Regions from separate parts of the Homo sapiens genome. Here region 2 is linked to region 1. Evidence: promoter capture Hi-C in human tissues and cell types (Jung and others, 2019). All regions are on one chromosome and are shown on one strand. The core of a region is centred on a gene start or on the middle of the fragment in contact, and the rest is flanking DNA. Distances in the headings are between cores, read along the strand shown. Region 1 holds the start of STRA6 (signaling receptor and transporter of retinol STRA6). Region 2 overlaps CCDC33 (coiled-coil domain containing 33).

Evidence for each region. Contacts are between HindIII fragments. The study calls those that stand out against the background at their distance.
Region 2: a fragment that was not itself captured here is called in contact with the fragment with the promoter of STRA6 in region 1 in 2 of the 25 tissues and cell types used here (H1 embryonic stem cells and pancreas).

Annotation. Positions count from the first base shown.
Region 1 is chr15:74,200,859-74,205,627 of GRCh38, reverse strand. STRA6 (signaling receptor and transporter of retinol STRA6) reads left to right here and starts at 2,841. Exons shown (of 19, transcript NM_022369.4): 1 at 2,841-2,915; 2 at 3,346-3,473. The coding sequence starts at 3,361. It also overlaps a transcript of CCDC33 not described here. RefSeq lists enhancers at 1-450, 1,936-2,569, 2,511-2,680, 4,473-4,769. The HindIII fragment of the contact is 11,640 bases long and covers 1-4,171 here.
Region 2 is chr15:74,271,310-74,276,078 of GRCh38, reverse strand. CCDC33 (coiled-coil domain containing 33) reads right to left here. Exons shown (of 19, transcript NM_025055.5): 6 at 4,285-4,376; 7 at 3,188-3,308. Among named protein-coding and RNA genes, the nearest start is that of CCDC33, 37 kb to the right of the region's middle. The HindIII fragment of the contact is 5,899 bases long and covers 1-4,769 here.

The DNA.
Region 1 (4,769 bases), core at 1,592-4,091:
TGGATGTGTGTGCCCTCCAAATCTCATGTTGAAATGTGACCCCAGTGTTGGAAGTGAGGCCTGGTGTGTGGTGTTTGGGTCATTGCGGGGTATCCCTCCTGAATGGCTTGGTGCCCTCCCTGTGGTAATGAGTGAGTTCTCGCTCTATCAGTTCATGTGAGAGCTGGCTATTTGTAAGTGCCTGGCATCTCTCCTGCTCCCTCTCTTGCCAAGTGTCCTGCCTGACCCCCCTTCACCTTCCATCACGATTGTGGGTTTCCTGAGGCCCTCCCCAGAAGCTGATGCTGGTGCCGTGCTGCTTCCTGCACAGCCTGCAGAACTGTGAGCCACATAAACCCCCTTTCCTTCTAAGTTACCCAGAGTCAGGTTTTCCTTCACAGCAATGCGAAACAGATGAACACAGTGCCCAACTGGTACCTCCCTCTCTCCCCTCTGGTATCAGCAACACACCACCTTCTCAGTGAGGCCTTCCCTGACCACCTTGTCTCAAACAGCCAACTCCCGTCTCTCTTCTCTTCCCCCACTTCACTTCCCCTCTGGTGTTGTCTCCCCTAAGCCCTACCATACATCAGGTTCCATTTGGTGCAGGCCTTGACTCATCTTGCTCGCTGCCAAACCAGCCTGGGGAAGGCAGAGTTAGGCTTCCTCCAAGGAAGAGGATGGTTTCTTTTCTTTCTTTCTTTCTTTTTTTTTGAGATGGAGTTTGCCTCTTTTGTCCAGGCTGGAGTGCAGTGGCACGATCTTGGCTCACTGCAACCTCTGCCCCCTGGGTTCAAGCGATTCTCCTGCCTCAGCCTCCCTAGTAGCTGGGATTACAGGTGTGCGCCACCACGTCCGGCTAATTTTTTGTATTTTTAGTAGAGATGGGATTTTGCCTTGTTGGCCAGGCTGGGTCTCTAACTCCTGACCTCAGGTGATCCACCTGCCTCGGCCTCCCAAAGTGCTAGGATTACAAGTGTAAGCCACCACACCTGGCCAAAGGGCATGGTTTCTGATAGGCAAGGATGTCTAACCCCTGACACTGCTGCCTTGTAGAGGGAGTGGGCTCCCTGTCTGGAACTGGACTCCAATGGTTGGAGGTGGATTTAAAATCAGATGGGAGTTGGCTGCTCCCTAAGGTAACAGTCTGAGACCCCTGAGCAGGGAAGGGCTTGCTGGCCTCTGGTGTGGGCACGGGGACTCTGGGAAGCCCAGCTGGTGAACCTCAGGGCACAGCAGCCGCCTGTATAGGACAGGCCCACAAATGAATACTGGCCGCCAGAACAAGCAATGGCTTTGCCAAGCTCAATTTCTGAAGTCCCTCTTACCCAAGGGCCAGGCGCTGAGCATCAGGGGAAGGCAGGAGGAGGGGTGGGAGGGATAGAGTCCCGCCCTCCGGGAGCTCACACTCGCGCCTGGAAGGCAAGTTTCCCGCATCCCTGGGATCAGAAGGGCCAGTGTGGGCTCCTCATTACATCAAATAAAGCTCGGGTTCAGCTCTGAGTCAGCAGATGCTGATATCTCTGTGGGATGGTGGAGAGCAACAGAGCCCTCTTCCTGCAAGAAGGGCCATTTGGGAAGAAGGGGGAGGAACTCAGGCTAGCAGGGTGCTCAGCCCCTAATCCTGCCCTGCAGGCTTGGGAATTTGAAAGAGAGCCTCCAGGATTTCAAGCCCTGTCTACTCTGAGACTTCACCCGTGCTGTTTCCTCTGTGGGGAACACACTTTCCCCCACCCCCATCCCCATCCTGAGCCTGCCACCCTCTGCTCAGCGGACTTTCCCCTGCCCTTCAGATCACCACGGAAAGGTTCTTTTCTTCAGGAATCTCCCCCCATCCCCAAATGCTCTTGGACTAAATTTGGTTTCCCATGGTACAGACCAGCTCAACCTGTGATTCCCTTTGTAACCCTCAGACTTTGGAGGGGATTTAGTTATCTGGCTGTGTCCCCGCTGAACTGTCATCTCTCCTGCCTCAGGGCTCAGAACAGTGCTGGCACATAGTGTGTGTTCAATAAATTTAAGTTAAAAGACTAAATGAATAATGTCTTCTTAAAAAAGCTGTTGAATGACTGCCTTAGCTGACAGGGTCCAAGCCGAAGCCCCTTGTAGGGTATTGGAAGGACAGAGACCCTCACAGTTTTAGGGGCCTAAACCTCCACCAGGGACAGTGGCCTGAGAACTGCTTTCTACCTTCTTCTGCCTCTCGCCCCTTCCTCCAGGCTGGGGCAGGGTCCTGCTCCTGGGGAGGGAGAATGCGGAGGAGCCCTCCTCCCTGGCCCAGACCTTCCCTTGCTCACCCTCAACCTCACTCCAGGAGGAGCAGGAGGCAGGCGGGGCTCCTCTTGCCTACCCGTGGGTCTGGTTTGTGTTTAAAGAGCTAATTTCCGCCTTGTGGGGGTGAGTTATCTCCTTGTGAAATCAACTTGTAGGAACAAAAAGGGTTTACCAATGAGACACATGTTGCCTCCTTCATGGAAACCCTAGGAGAAGAAACGGACAGATTCCCCTTCCCTGCCTCCGCCCCAGCCCAGCCCCAGCGGTCCGTCTCACTCGGTTGTTGCTGTAATGCTGGTCTCCTGTCTGTGTGCGGCACTGCAGATGTGGCGGGCAGGGGCTTGGGAGCTCTGGGGCAGGCGCTGAAGGCAGGTATGTGTGTGAAGTCAGGTGCGGGGGTGGGGGTGGCTCCTGGCCACACCCTTGCAGGGCTCAGGCCGCCAATGGTGCTGGGGCCTCCTCCCCCAGGAGGGGGGCTTTGTCAAGGATTATGGTGTATTTCCATCACCGAGGCCCAAAGGGGCCAGAAAGGGGCAGGCTGAGGCTGGGGGAGGGGCTCAAGGGAGCCCAGCTGGGAGGGCCCAGGCAGGCAGTGCGGAGCTGGCCGTGGGCTGCCTACCCTTTCATCTCTGCAACTCCTTCCTCCCTGGGCCTCCCTTCTGGTGTGTCTGTGGGTCTGTCTAGGTGGGCTTGGGAAAGGGGAAGGAAGGGGCGTCTCTTTAGGCAGCTCAGACTGGACAAGCCTTCTTTGAAAATGGTCCTTTGAACACACGCCTGCTGGTGGTTGGTCAGACAGATGCGCCAGCGGGAGCCCCGGGGCCCCAAGGGGACAGCTATCTCTGCAGGACCAGTGCGATGGGCGGGAAGGGAGGAGGGGACACGAGAGGCCCTGTCCTCTTCCCGTGCCAGCTTGCTCAGGCCCTCAGTCCCAGACGGGCTTTTCCCAGAGAGCTAAAAGTAAGAAAGTAACCTTCAGGATTAAAGAGAAATGTTTCTTTGTTTGGGTTTTCCGTCTTTCTTTCTTTTTTTTTCTCTTTTAAGCCTCTTTTCACATCTGTAGTGGCTTTTTTTTTCTCTCGCCTGGGGTCAAAGGAGAAGGGCCAGAGAATGTCGTCCCAGCCAGCAGGGAACCAGACCTCCCCCGGGGCCACAGAGGACTACTCCTATGGCAGCTGGTACATCGATGAGCCCCAGGGGGGCGAGGAGCTCCAGCCAGAGGGGTAAGTGTGGAACCACCCCACCTCACTCTGTCAGCCATCAGAATGGGGTGATGGCAGAGGTTGCAACTGGCCAGGGAGCAGCTCCTGGGCAGGGGCTGCTAGGTCTGGCTCTGCCACTCATTTGCTGTGTGACCTTGGGCAAGTCACAGCCTCTCTGGGGTTCATTCAGTCTCTGCCTCTGTTACATGAGAACAACATCCCTCACCCTGCTGTTAAGACACCTAAGGCTGGTCACCTTAGGTATGATGTGTGACGTGTTAAAAATACAGATGATTCAGATCTGCAGGGATGGCTCCCTGGGTGATTCTGGCCCATAGCCAGGATGGAGAAGCTGCTGAGAGCAGTTGAGGCAAGCAGACCTCCCTTCAAGGGGTTATTGGTCTCTGTGGTGAGCATTTGGGTGTGGTGTTTCCAAGTGTCAAGTTCTCTGGGCAGGCTGGGGGATTCGGGGAAGGCAGAGAACCAAAGGGAGAAAGCCTGGTGAGAAGTCACTGAGGAAACAAGCACCCTTGTTGTCTTTGGATGGTCTCAGAGGATGAGGAGAGCCTATTCCCTTTAGCAGAAGTGCTCAGGCCAGCCCAGGTGAGGGTGGGAGCAGGAAGGCAGCCCGCCCCAGGGTGGCCTGAGAACCCAGCCACAGCTGCTTTGCCTGGGTCCATTCTACCGGGGTTTAGTCTGGGCACCCTGGTGGAGGAGCTGGGCCCCTTCTGTGTCCCCCACCTCCTGCCAGGATGTCTTGCCTGTGTAGGACCCAGAGCCAGTTCTCCCCTGTTGTTCCCAGGCCTGGCCCCATCCCTTATCTCCCTGCTCTGTCTGACGGTTTGGAGAAGTAGAAAGGTGAGGCTGGGGGTTGCCGAGCCAGATGTGTGCACATCTGTTCTCCATCAAAACCTGAAACTTGAGAAGGAAAAATCCTTGCGTGCCTCCCCAGGGGCTGGGGCTGCGGCCTGGCTGGGCTTGGGTCATCCAGCAGGGACAGAGGCTCCACCCAGGCCTCGGGGAAGGAGCTGTTGTTTGGAGGACTCAGGGTTCTGACCACCTGGAAAATAGCCTGCAGTCAGCAAGGGCGTGCTCCCCACTCATCTTGCCTGACTGACCGAGAGCCTGTGGGCTCCACATATCCTGCTGTGTATGTGTGGCCTGCGAGAGACCAGAATGAGGACAGGCCCAGGAACCCATGAGGATGGTTTCTGACCTAGGTGAAGGCTCTAATCTGAAGCTGTGTCCTTGGGAGCCTCAGGGCCTGGGCACTGGCTGGGGGCCAGGTGCCTGTAAATGTAGCTGTGGTCTATAGCT
Region 2 (4,769 bases), core at 1,648-4,147, 70 kb before region 1:
CATGTAACCCAATCCTGGCTAATCAGACAGGAAGGAGGTCTGCTGAGGGATGGCTGGGTAAGGTTGGTTTCCAGTTGCTCTTTAAAACCACCTACAAGAAGAGAGGGTGCTGCTGGGTGCGGTGCCTCAGGCCTGTAATTCCAGCACTTTGGGAGGCCAAGGTGGGCGTATCGCCAGAGGTCGGGAGTTCAAGATCAGCCTGGTTAACATGGTTGAACCCTATCTCTACTAAATATACAAAATTAGCTGGGCATGGTGGCGCTCGCCTGTAATCCCAGATACTCGGGAGGCTGAGGCAGGAGAATTGCTTGAACCCAGGAGGCAGAGGTTGCAGTGTGAGCCAGGATTGCGCCACTGCACTCCAGCCTGGGGGACAGAGACTTGGTCGCAAAAAAAAAAAGAGAGGCTGCCTCTTATCTGCTGGTCTTTCATTCTATTTGGATGAAGTGCCCCCATGAGCCGTTAGCCAGCTGAAGATGGTAATTCGGGGTGTTGGAAAGATCCTGAGACCTCGAGGATGCTTCTGAGCCTGAGCATCCACCAATTCTGGCAGCATTCTATGTCGTGAGTTGATGTGGTGTGTGACAATAAATATCCTTAGTATTTAAGCCGATCCAAGTTGGGGTTTCTGTTACTTGGAGCCAGATGTGAAAAGGGCAGTGGTGAGGCTGGCCTCAGAGGGGACACTGGCACTAGGGGAGGTACAGCTCTGTTAAGAGTGGAACCCATTTACCTTGGACCCTGGGCCTGGACACTTTGCAAAGATTATCCTTTGAGTTCTCCTAACAGATTGGAATCAATGAGTCTGGAGAAAGGAGCAGCTTACCAAAGGTCATGCAGCCAGTAAGTTACAGAGCTGGGGTCAAACCCAGGTCAAACAGTGCTTTTGCACAGTGACAGTTGGTGAGAAATCACAGCCCCCCAAGATGTCAGAGAGGGCAGGCCCTAAAATTACCAAGTCCAATCCCACCCCCTCAAGTGTAGAGATGAGGGGACTGACGCTCAAAGGGAACAGGGCAGGGGTCTGTGTGAAGACTGAGCTCACGCTGCTGACTGGTGCCCCTCCAGGTATGGCTCTGCCCGGGCAATCCCCACCCCTCCTTACCACAGCAGCCTGCTCCTGTTCTCTCACTGCTGCACCTGGGCACCTCTGTGCCAGCTGCCAGCAAATTCCCAACCTGGCCCAGCTGCCATGGGGTTGGGTGATGTTCAACAGGTGTCCTGCCATTGCTGGACCGGGTCCCACACATGCAAAAGGCACTGGGAACAAGTCTCTGTAGTGAGTGGCACCTCTCCTACCCAGACTAGTTAGGCAGCAAAGGCAGCCAGAGAAAGCCTGGGGGTGGGAGGGGGCACACTCATTAAAGCAGGCAGTGCCTCTTGCCCCTTGGGACAGCCTGCTGATTGGTTCTTAATTTTCTGGGCAAATGCAGGGCCATGTGTGAGGTAACTCTAGGGAAATCAGGCAAAGGATTGGTTTGGGTTTGAAGCCTCTGTCCCCAGGGTCCCCCTTTGTCCCACTCCTCCCCACCACCATCACTCTACCCCATGTCTGAGCCTTCTTCAAATGTCTTTGCCTTTAAATGAAGCCTGGGCTCCAAAGGGGTGTCTTGTTCTATTTTTGCTATGCCAGACATAAGCACTGGTGGGCAGACAATAGGAGGGACCTCCAAAAATCCCTCTGTCCCCCAAGGCCCCTAGGAATGTTGGGACCATCGTGTAGGGCAAGCTGGCAGTGAAGCGCAGATCATGAGAAGAGACCAATCTGGCTATTCCCCTGAACCCAGCCATGTTCTGTGCGTGCACCCGCCCCCAACCTCATACTCAAACACACAGCCCTCCTGTCTGCCCTGACATGGGTCATAGCCTGCCTGTCTCCACCTCACACTTGTGCTATTGCTGTGTCCAACCTGTACCAACCCTTCCTCTGTTAAAAATTCAAGACTGCCGGCTGAGTGCAGTGGCTCATGCCTGTAATTCCAGCACTTTGGGAGGCCGAGGTGGACAGGTCACAAGGTCAGGAGTTTGAGACCAGCCTGGCCAACATGGTGAAACTCCATCTCTACTGAAAATACAAAAATTAGCCGGGCATGGTGGCGGGTGCCAGTAATCCCAGCTACCTGGGAGGCTGAGGCAGGAGAATTGCTTGAACCTGGGAGGCGGAGGTTGCTAGTGAGCCAAGATGGTGCCACTGCACTCCAGCCTGGGCAACAAGAGCAAGACTCTGTCTCAAAAAAAAAAAAAAAAATTCAAGACTGCCTTCCCTAATCCAGGCTTTACATCCCTCTCCTCTGATTAAAAAAAATTTTTCGCTGGGCGCAGTGACTCATGCCTGTAATCCCAGCCTTTTGGGAGGCCAAAGCGGGTGGATCACCTGAGGTCAGGAGTTCGAGACCAGCCTGGCCGACATGGTGAAACCCTGTCTCTACTAAAAGGATAAAAATTAGCCAGGCATGGTGGCATGTGCCTATAAGCCCAGCTACTCGAGAGGCTGAGGCAGGAGAATTGCTTGAACCCGGGAGGCAGAGGTTGCAGTGAGCCAAGACTGCGCCACTGCACTCCAGCCTGGGAGACAAGAGCGAGGCTCTGTCTCAAAAAAAATTTTTTTACTGGGTTAAAATATACGTAACACAACATTCACCATTGTAGCCATTTTTAATGTACAGTTCGGTAATGTTAAATGCATTCATTTGTTCGTATTGTTGTGTAACCATCACCACTATCTATTTCCAGGACTTTTCATCACTTGAAACGGAAACTAGGTACTTATGACCTGTAACTCCCCATTCTTCCCTTTCCCCAGCCCCTGTAGCCACTGTTCTACATTCTGACTCTGAATTTTCCTATTCTAGGTATCCCATATAAGTGGAATCATATATTTGTCCTTTTGTATCTTCTCCTCTGATGTGATAGCCCTGACAGGCCCTCCCAGTTTGTTATTAGATTATACATTATCTTGTGTTGATGTTCAACTTTTTCACCCACGTGACTCCCATCTTCACCAGACCAAGAGTTCCTGGAGGGCAGTTTCTCTGCCGCACAGGCGAGCACAGCACTGGGTATGCCGTGGGATTCAGTCAACTCTTACTCGATAGTCAAGGGAACTGCTGACTGACTCACTGAGTGAGTGAACAGTGAATGTGTGGGGTAGTTACAGGAAGCTGGAACCACTGGGGAGGAGACATACCTGAGGGCATCCGTTCTGGCTGACGCGAGGCACGTCAAAGTTCATCATGGACGGGATAGGGAAGGACAGTGGGGTGATGGGCAGCCCCACAGAGGCCAGGTCCCTGTTAGCCTGGCTGACCCTGGGGAGGCAGGGAGACAGGGTCAGTGCTCTGGGCTCTGCACCTGAGCCTGGCAGCCCAGGGCCCCCCGCTTAGACTCTGGGTTGATGCAAGAGAAGGGAGTTGCAGGGATCCCGCCGAGTTCGGGCCTGGACCTCACGACAAGTGGGGACCACTGGGCTGGGCGTGCATCAATCATCTTCCTTCCTCCAACAAGCAAGGGGGCTTCATAAGTCATAAAAACTCAACAGGAGATACAGAGAAGTAGGGGAGTCATCTTGGGCCATCAGGGCCAGTTGGAAGTGACCAAGACAGACCCTGACTCCCAGGAGTCGGTGCTGTGGCAGAGAGCACACGTTCATAGGGGAATTTCCCACTGTGTGGCAAAGTATGAATCTCCTCTTGAGGACTGTGACTCCAACAGACTCAAAAGGAGGTCTAGGGGAGGAGGGGATGAGTTGTGGCTGGGACCAGGGAGACCTCCAGGATGAGGAGGGAGGAGACTCCGCCCGGCAGGGCTAAAGGCTGTGAAGTTCCAAGATGGCCTTTGGGGCCAACCACTGGCTGGAGCCTGTGGCCCTGAGCTAGAGTGGGAGGGGGAGTGGGGAGGTGGTGGGTGTGAGGCAGGGAGGCAGGTTGGAGGGGCTGAGGTTCCCTGAGCAGGGAATGAGGACCCCTCTTGTTGTCCTCCCCACACTCTCTAGCTGTTAGGCCTGGTATCGGCACTCATCCCCACCACCTGCCCTCCAGCTTGCTCTCAGGAGAGGACTGAGCTGCCCCTTTCCAGGGGCCTGGGCTCTCCCTGGGGAAAGAAAGGCATGGTCTGCTGCAGGAAGCTTACTGGGACCTCAGACCCAATGGAGAGGCTTGAAGGGCCTTAGGGGTAGAGGGGTTGCCGGAGGTCCTGGAATCAGCCCATGGCAGCAATGACAGCCTCACCCCCTCCTCTGCCCTCTGCTCTGCCCTCCTCACCCAGGTCCACCTGGGCCCCACTCACTTAAATTCCTTGTAGTTGGGAACGACCCGGGCAATCACCACTATGGGGTTGGGGTTGTTGGCCAGGGGCTCGTTGACTCCCCGGAGAAAGATCTGGAGAGGAGAGGAGAGGAGGCAGGTGAACACCATGTGGCCTTGGGACCTTCCAGAGACAGCCAGCCAGACTGCCTACCCTCTTTTTCCCCATCCGTGAGCTCATGGCTGCCTCCACACTTGACACCTGCTTCTCCCTGTTCCCTGCCTTACTCGGTTCTTGCTTTGCACCAGGCTGCCCTCCCTCAGGAAGCCTTCTCTGCCGAGCTGAGGCAACTGCTCCCGCTTTCTGTCCTGGGATTTACCAATGGATCTCTTACACTAGTTTCTTTGGGGAGAAAGGGTACGATGAGAGTTGGGTCCTGGGAAGGGAGGTTGTGTTCTAACCTCGGCCCCTCCACTGGCTCCTGGGGAGGGGTTGGGCTAGGGGTAGGGCTAGGTGTTCCAGCTCCT